Linked DNA regions of Homo sapiens: region 1 is linked to region 2. The links are contacts of gene promoters, found by promoter capture Hi-C in human tissues and cell types (Jung and others, 2019). All regions are on one chromosome and are shown on one strand. The core of a region is centred on a gene start or on the middle of the fragment in contact, and the rest is flanking DNA. Distances in the headings are between cores, read along the strand shown.

Region 1 (4,362 bases), core at 506-3,005, 260 kb after region 2:
CGTGCCACGTGCACAGTGGACCCTCGTCAGAACAAACACCCCTTAGGATCCTCAACTCTTCAAATGCCATGTGCTAGGAGGGGGAGACCACAGCCAAAGCCCACTTAGGGGTCACTCAGGATCCAGTGGGGTGCAGGAAAAAAAGGCCACAACGTCTCTTCATATGTTCCAAGATAGTAAGATGCACTAATATTTCACAGTGATACTGGCCCATGGGACCGGTATTGGAAGGAAGACCAGGCGTTCCCCTTGAAGGGATGGCCATGGCTGCCTTACTCACACGCTTGCTGCTGACATGCTGCAACAAACTGCAGCTTACCTGTGCCAGGTTACGGGGATTTACAGATATTATCTAGTTTTAACTAAATTAATCCTCACAAAGTTGGCAACTGGCTCAAAAAGATCCTGCAGAGAAACCAAGAATGGAAGGCAGCTCTACAGTGGAAGAGCCCTGACAGGCCTGGGATAGCAGAGTCTTACTGCCAAAACCATGAGACGAAAACAACAGCCATCTAGTCAAATCTTACTGAAAGTCCACCCAGAACCACCTCAAAATTACCAAGGTCACCACTGGAAATAGGGGCTACAATTAGCCATCTCAACAATGTGCTTCTGCAGGGCACGGTGGCTCATGCCTGTAATCTCAGCACTTTCGGAGGCAGAGGCAGGCAGATCACCTGAGGTCGAGAGTTCAAGACCAGCCTGGTCAACATGGTGAAACTTCGTCTCTACTAAAAATACAAAATTAGCCAGGCGTGGTGGCGGGCACCTGCAGTCCCAGCTACTTGGGAGGCTGAGGCAGGAGACTCTCTTGAACACAGGAGGCGGGGGTTGCAGTGAGCCGAGATTGCACCACTGCACTCCAGCCTGGGCGACAGAACGAGACTCCATCTCCAAAAAACGCCCCCAAACAATGTGCTGCTTCATCTCAACAACTATGCCTTGATAATTAACCTTTGCTGCTATGAAGCCATCGCAATTAGCAAGATGTTTACAAACACTTCCCACTGCATGGCCATCTTGTGTTCTTTTTTTTATGTTTTTTTGAGACGGAATCTTGTTCTGTTGCCCAGGCTAAAGTGCAGTGGTGTGATCTCAGCTCAATGCAACCTCTGCCTCCCAGGTTCAAGTGATTCTCCTGCCTCAGCCTCCCAAGTAGCTGGGATTACAGGTGTGAGCCACCGTGCCCAGCCAGTAGCAGTCACTTCTATAGCACTCCCTCTTTGCGGGCTGCTACTCCAGGCACTTGACTCACTCAGAATTTATCGGAGCCTCACGCAACTCTGTAAGGAAGACAGTCTCATTCTTCCATAGACCAGGGACATTCTCAAAAACTCACAGTTACTAAGGGGCAAACTGGGAAGCAAACCCTACAGGCCAGGCTCCTGAGCTGTGTTTTCAACTGCTCTGCTCCCTCCAGAATTCTACTTAGAGATTTTCTGCGATGAAAACATCCTGCATTCCTAGGATAAACATAAGTTGCTTACAGTTTTTTAGAAACTGTGTCATTTGGTAGTATTTTCCTACAATTTTTATATCTATGTTCGTGAAGAAGTTGTGGTTATCCATTTTCTTTCTCGCATTTTCCTTATTATTGTTATCCGAGTTATAGGAACTTTATAGAATGAGCTGGGAAAGATTCTCTCCTCCTCTATTCTTTGGAAGAACGTGTAAAGGATTGGAATTGTTTCTTAAAAGTTACATAGAAATTGGCTGGGCACAGTGGTTCACACCTGTAATCCCAGCACTTTAGGAGGCCAAGGCGGTTGGATCACCTGAGGTCACGAGTTCAAGACCAGCCTGACCAACATGGTAAAACCCCATCTCTACTAAAAATACAAAAATTAGCCAGGCGTGGTGGCGTGCGTCTATAGTCCCAGCTATTTGGGAGGCTGAGACAGGAGAATTGCTTGCACCCAGGAGGCGGAGGTTGCAGTGAACTGAGATCACACCACCGTACTCCAGCCTAGGCAACAGAGTCCGTCTCAAAAAAAAAAAAAAGTTACACAGAAATAACATTGTCTCTGCTTGGGGTTTTTTATGGGAAGATTTTTAACCAATGCTTTAATTTCTTTAATAGTTAAAAGACTCTTCACTTTCTATTTCTTTCAGTTTTGGTAAGTTATATCTTATTTCACCTCTATTTTAATCAAATAGAGCACACCACCACATCCAGCTAATTGTTTCGATTTGTTTTTTGTGTGTGTGAGATGGAGTCTTGCTCTGTCACCCAGGCTGGAGTGCAGCGGCATGATCTTGGTCAGCTCACTGCAACCTCCACCTTCTGGGTTCAAGCAATTCTCCTGCTTCAGCCTCCCGAGCAGCTGGGATTACAGGTGCACCCCATCACGCCTAATTTTTATATTTTTAGTAGAAACCGGGTTTCGCCATGTTGGCCAGGCTGGTCTCCAACTCCTGACCTCAAGTGATCTGCCCACCTCTGCCTCCCACAGGTGTGAGCCACCGTGCCCGGCCTTGATTTGTTTTTGTAGAGATGGGATCTTGCTGTGTTGTCCAGGCTGCACGTTTTATAATACACATAAGATATGCTGATACAACAACAGATGCATAAAACAATTGGGCTAGGCATGGTGGCTCACACTTATAATCCCAGCACTTTGGGAGGCTGAGATGGGAGGATCATGTGAGCCCAGGAGTTCAAGACTACAACGAGTTGTGATGGAGCCACTGCATTCCAGCCTGGGTGTCAGAGCAAGATACTGTCTCTAAAAAAATAATATTTGTATATATATATATATATATATTTTGGAAGTATCTTTTGAAAACGTTTCTGTCTGGGTAATTATTTACAGAAAAGCTTGGCGAACACAGCCCCACCTGACCGATTCACCTTCATGGCCCATTCTGCAGCAGGCATGATTCAAATTTAGGTTTCATCAGTTACTATACATTATGAACTACCCTCCTAAATTTGACCCAGACTGAGAGCAGCAGTGCCACAAGTGCATGGGCTTATCTAATCCAGAGGACCCACAGCCACCCCACTGCTGCAAACCCACACTCACAGCTGCGAGCATGCTCCTTGGAGAGCAGGTAGTTGGCTAGAGGTGGTGTGTAGGTCAAGCACTGGATGGTGGCATTGAGAAAGCAGGTGTTGCCAAGGTTGTGGAGTCCTGCGCCCACGCGGAAGACCCGCTCCCACCTCAGAGACAGTCGCTCCGTGGGGAAAAGCACTTTCTGCGGGGCTGGGACTCCGTCACCACAGCTCTCATACGTGTGCTCACTGCCTGAGGAAGAAAGGGACAAGGGAAGAAAAGAGGAAGACGTAAGTCCACACACAGGTCGTCCACAAAAAGAAACTCCTGAAGCATACACTTAGCATGCAGTGACTCGGAACATGGCACCAGAGAAGAACTGGTGTTCTGGTTTACAGGACATTCCTGGAAAGCTCAGGAGTAAACCCAGCCATCCCACGGACCTCCTAGGCTGCTTGGCTAAAGAATTCAAGGGCCCCTCTATAGATGGAGGACACAGCTCAGAGACTGAGTGGCGGAAGGAGCCAGGCCTGGCACTCTGCACCACACTGTGCCCACATGCAGCCCACCCCATTTCTCTTTCTTAGTTCCAAGCCTGACTTTCGACTGTATTATACTTGGGATAGGGGGACAGCAAGTCCAAGGACCCACCAAGTACACAGATCCACCAAGCACACAGATTTCCTTGCTACCAACCCTGTATCATTACTTCTATAACTGAAATCCACTGACCCCATGTAAAAATTCATAACTCTTTGACCACATTCTCTTGTTTTTCCTACTAATTAGTCAATATTTAAGTCCATCCACTTCGTCACCCCGGAGTGAGGGCCTCTCTGCCAGCACACTGCACATCTGTACCCTGTCTCCTGGCCGGTGGGTCATCTCCACTCTTGTGGCGACTAGCTCCCTCTGTTTTGGGGTTGAGCAACACATATTTGCTCTTTAAGGCCTCCAGCTGGTAGGAGAAGCTCTTGCTGGCTGGCTCGAACTCGATTTTCTGTAAAAGGACCTTCTTGGCAGAGGAGGCAAGAAGCTTCCCCAGTTCTCCATCATCAGCCGAGTCCTTGCGGCCGGGTTTCAGGGCCTCCTTCAACTTATCCACTATTGGCATGGTGCATCACTGTGGGGACAAGAAGAAACATAGAGCCATAGATAACGAAATCCCGGGACAAAAACATCTCTTAAGATCTCCTCTTTGGTCATTATGGATGCTAGCCACCACAAAAGCTCCCCTGGATCAGTGATCCCCTGGATCAGCTGCACAAAGGAAACAGGGAGACCCAGCACTAATCACTTGGACATATTAGTTCACATTTCCCCCACAAAAAGATAAGATGCCACTACAAATAGAGGTGAGCAGACA
Region 2 (4,020 bases), core at 91-2,590:
TATTCAGCTGCTCTGGGGGTCCGTGGGCTGGGGCTGGCCTGCTCCAGACCTGGCAGCTGCTGAAAAGCATCAGGGTGGACAGATGACGTTGGAAGCACTCACAAATTCTGCCTTTTGGTTTGACCCAAGCTATTGCTTTTAAGTTTGTAACAGCCTACAGTTCCCCAAAAGACACGTAATACCACGGAACAGGTTTATTTCACCCTGGCCACTATATATCGGCAAAACAACTATATGATGGGAAGCAGTAGTGGATAGCATTTGGATGCTATTCAAATGGTCTGAGATTTATTCAAGGCTCCAAACATCTCTGAGAGAGGACTTGGGGAATATTTGGCCAGCAAATGGCAGAAACATGGCGGTCCACGAGCAAAGCCACCCGATTCAGGCACATCTGTGAAAGAAAAAGGGGACACCACCAGGCAAGTAGGAGGAGCACCGCGTGGCATTTATGGAGATGACTCGTTCACCAGGTTCCCACAGGGCTTTCAGCATGCTGCTGAATTAATCTCCACCCAGGATCTCCGAGACCCGGGGACGCGTCACGTCGTCATTTCCTAGGGGGATCAGGAACTCAGGGGAGCCCGAGTCCTGGAAGGTTCCTGATTGGAAGTCTCGCCAAGCTGGTCAGGCGACTGGACTGGAGGGAAACATCCTCTGGTTTACTGATTTTGTGGATTTGGGCTTTCACAAAGTCATCTTTTCTTCCAAGAACGGCATGGGGTGGGCTGCCTCCCAAGCCATAACATGTGTGGGCTGAGGGGCCCCTACACCCCGCAAGTTTCTTGCACGATCGGGAGGTCTCATCTCAGGCTCCCACCCAGCCGTTTCCTGGGCTGAAGGCCAGGAGGTCCCAGTTAACAATAGGGTTGTCCCAGGCCATGCTTCCGGAGGGGCAGAGACGGCTTCTCTGGGAGGTGGCCCATGCCCCAGGCCTTCAGGACTCCACAGGAGGAAGCTGGGGCTAGGGGCTTCCAGGAGAAGCCAGGGGGCTGAGGCAAGGCCTTCCCAGGAGCAGGGAAGAGTCTGGAGCCCTGGAAGGGGTCAGGCTGGTACGTGGCAGCCAGCCTCGGGGTCCCAGAGCCATGAACAGCTCCCGGTGGCGAGCAGAGCCACTTCTGGGGTAAGTGGAGGGTCTGCTGTCTGCCAGGGCCTAGGTCCCACCTCCATCCTCTGAAGGCCTCCCTGCTCCCTCCACCTTGGCCTCCGACTCCCCCAGCATGGTTGAAGGCCGCTCACCAGCTGAAGGCAAACAGCTTCTCCCGCAAACTGATGAGCAACTCTTTCCCAAACCAGGAAAGAAAATGGCTCCCTTCCCTCGAGGGGCTCCAACTGCCACATAACTTCTGGGAGTCTCCTCACGGTACCTGGGGCTTCTAGAACCTTCCCCTTGGGACCCAAGTAACCAATGATAGCGCAGCAAATGAGGAACCAACCGTCACCCCACAGTGGAAAGGCTCTTAGATGATCATTTTGAGGGGAGGTTGGAGGGGGGACAGGGTCGCGCTCTGTTACCCAGGCTGGAGTGCAGTGGTACAATCATAACTCACTGCAGCCTCAAACTCCTGGGCTTACGTGATCCCCCCCCCTCAGCCTCCTGAGAAGTTAGGACAACAGACGCACATCACCACACCTGGCTAATTTTTGTACTTTTTGTAGAGATGAGGTCTCACTCTGTTGCCCAGGCTGGTCTCAAACTCCTGGCCTCAAGCAATCCTCCCAAAGTGGAAAGGAAGACATTATCTCTGTTTACAATAAGGTGATCTTGTATGTAGAAAATCCCAAGAAATCCATAAAATTGTAGAGCTAATAGAGGAATTCAGCAAGTTTGCAGTATACAAGATATTTGAAAATTAATTATATTTCTCTGTAATTATATTATGAACAATCTGATGATGAAATTTAGAAAACAATTGTCCCCATAATGAACAATCTGATCATGAAATTTAGAAAACAACTCCCATTTACAACAGCATCAAAATAATTTCGTTTACAATAGCGTCAAAAACAACAAAATACTTAGGAATAAACTTTAAAAAGAAGTGTTAAGACTTGTACACTGAAAACTGCAAAACATCATGGAAATAAAGACAACCTAAATCAATGGAAGGACATGCTGTGTTCATGGGTTAGAAGATTGTTAAGACGGGCCAGGCGTGATGGCTCACGCCTGTAATCCCAGCACTTTGGGAGGCCAAGGCGGGTGGATCACGAGGTCAGGAGATCGAGACCATCCTGGCTAACACGGTGAAACCCCATCTCTACTAAAAATACAAAAAAATTAGCCGGGCGTGGTGGTGGGTGCCTGTAGTTCCAGCTACTCAGGAGGCTGAGGCAGGAGAATGGCATGTACCTGGGAGGCGGAGCTTGCAGTGAGCCGAGATCCCGCCATTGCCCTCCAGCCTGGGAGACAGAGTGAGACTCCGTCTCAAAAAAAAAAAAAAAAGAAGATTGTTAAGATGACGACAGTTCTCCTCAAGTTGATCTGCAGATTCAACACAATCCTTATCAAACTCTCAGCTGCCTTTTTTGTAGAAATGACCCTAGATTTTATAGGGAAGTATGAGGGAACAAAAACCATCCAAACAACTTTGAAAAAGAACAAAGTCTGAAGACACACACTTCCTGATTTCAAAACTCACTACAAAGCTACAGTTATCAAGACAGTGCTACCAGCATAACAATAGACAGAGATCACTAGAATAGAATTGAGGTTCCAGAAATAAATGCATCCATTTATGGACGATTGAGTTAGCAAAGGTGCCAAGACAACTCAATGGGAAAAGAATCACCTTTTCAACAAATGGTATTGGAATAACTGAATACCCACATGCGGAAAAACGAAGCTGGGCCCTTACCTCACGCCATCTACACGAATTAACTCAGCATAGATTAACAGAATGCAAGAGCCAAATGTAAGAGCTAAAACTATAAAACTCTTAGAAGAGCACACAGGAGTTGATCTGACCTCAGATGAGGCAATGATGTCTTACATATGATGCCAAAAGCATAAGTGAGCAAAGGAAAAAAGATAAGTTTAACTTCATCAAAACCAAAAACTTTTATGCTTCAAAAGGCACCCTAAAAAAGGGAAAAGATGACCCATAGAATGGGAGAAAATATTTGCAAATCATATATCTGACAAGGGACTTGTCGTAATACAATAAAACAACCTAATTTTAAGGAGTAAAGGATATAGATATTTCTTCAAGAAAGATACACAAATGACCAGTATGCACATGGAAAGCAGCTTGATATCATTAGCCATTAGGAAAATGCAAATCAAAGTAAAATGAACTTCAATGAGGTCCCTAGAGTAGTCAAATTCATTAAGTAGAATGGAGGTTGCCAAGGGCTAGGGAGGGAGAATAGGAATTTATTTTTTAATGGGGCCGTCAGAGGCATTTGAACCAGAGCCACTCCATTTTGAATGGGGTCTGGGTAAAATAAGGCCCTACTGCATTCCCAGGAGGTGAAGGCATTCTTAGTCACAGGGTGAGACGGGGGTTCAGCACAAGTCATAAAGAGCTTGCTGATAAAACAGGTTGCGGTAAAGAAGCTGGCCAAAGCCCACCAAAACCAAGATGACCTCTGGTGGTCCTCACTGCTACACTCCCACCAGCACCGTAACAGTTTGCAAATGCCATGGCAATGTCAGGAAGTTACCCTAGATGGTCTAAAAAGGGGAGGCATGAATAATCCACCCCTTGTTTAGCATATCCTCAAGAAATAACCATAAAAATGGGCAACCAGCAGCCCTCAGGCTGCTCTGCCTATGGAGTTGCCATTCTTTCATTCCTTTACTTTCTTAATAAACTTGTTTCACTTTACTCTATGGACTCACCCTGAATTTCTTCTTGCACGAGATCCAAGAACCCTCTCTTGGGGTCTGGATCTGGACCCCTTTCTGGTAACAGGGTCAGAGTTTCAATTTGGGATAGTGAAGAAGTTCTAGAGATGGATGGTGGTGGTGTTTTTACAACGATGTAAGTGTACTCAGTGCCACGGAACTGTACACTT

Evidence for each region. Contacts are between HindIII fragments. The study calls those that stand out against the background at their distance.
Region 1: a fragment that was not itself captured here is called in contact with the fragment with the promoter of DNAH17 in region 2 in 2 of the 25 tissues and cell types used here (lymphoblastoid cells and mesenchymal stem cells).

The regions. Positions count from the first base shown.
Region 1 is chr17:78,832,254-78,836,615 of GRCh38, forward strand. USP36 (ubiquitin specific peptidase 36) reads right to left here. Exons shown (of 21, transcript NM_001385174.1): 3 at 3,858-4,119; 4 at 3,027-3,248. The coding sequence starts at 4,110. Among named protein-coding and RNA genes, the nearest start is that of USP36, 6.4 kb to the right of the region's middle. The HindIII fragment of the contact is 6,692 bases long and covers 1-4,362 here.
Region 2 is chr17:78,576,056-78,580,075 of GRCh38, forward strand. It overlaps DNAH17 (dynein axonemal heavy chain 17), which reads right to left and starts at 1,341. Exons shown (of 81, transcript NM_173628.4): 1 at 1,240-1,341. The HindIII fragment of the contact is 13,821 bases long and covers 1-4,020 here.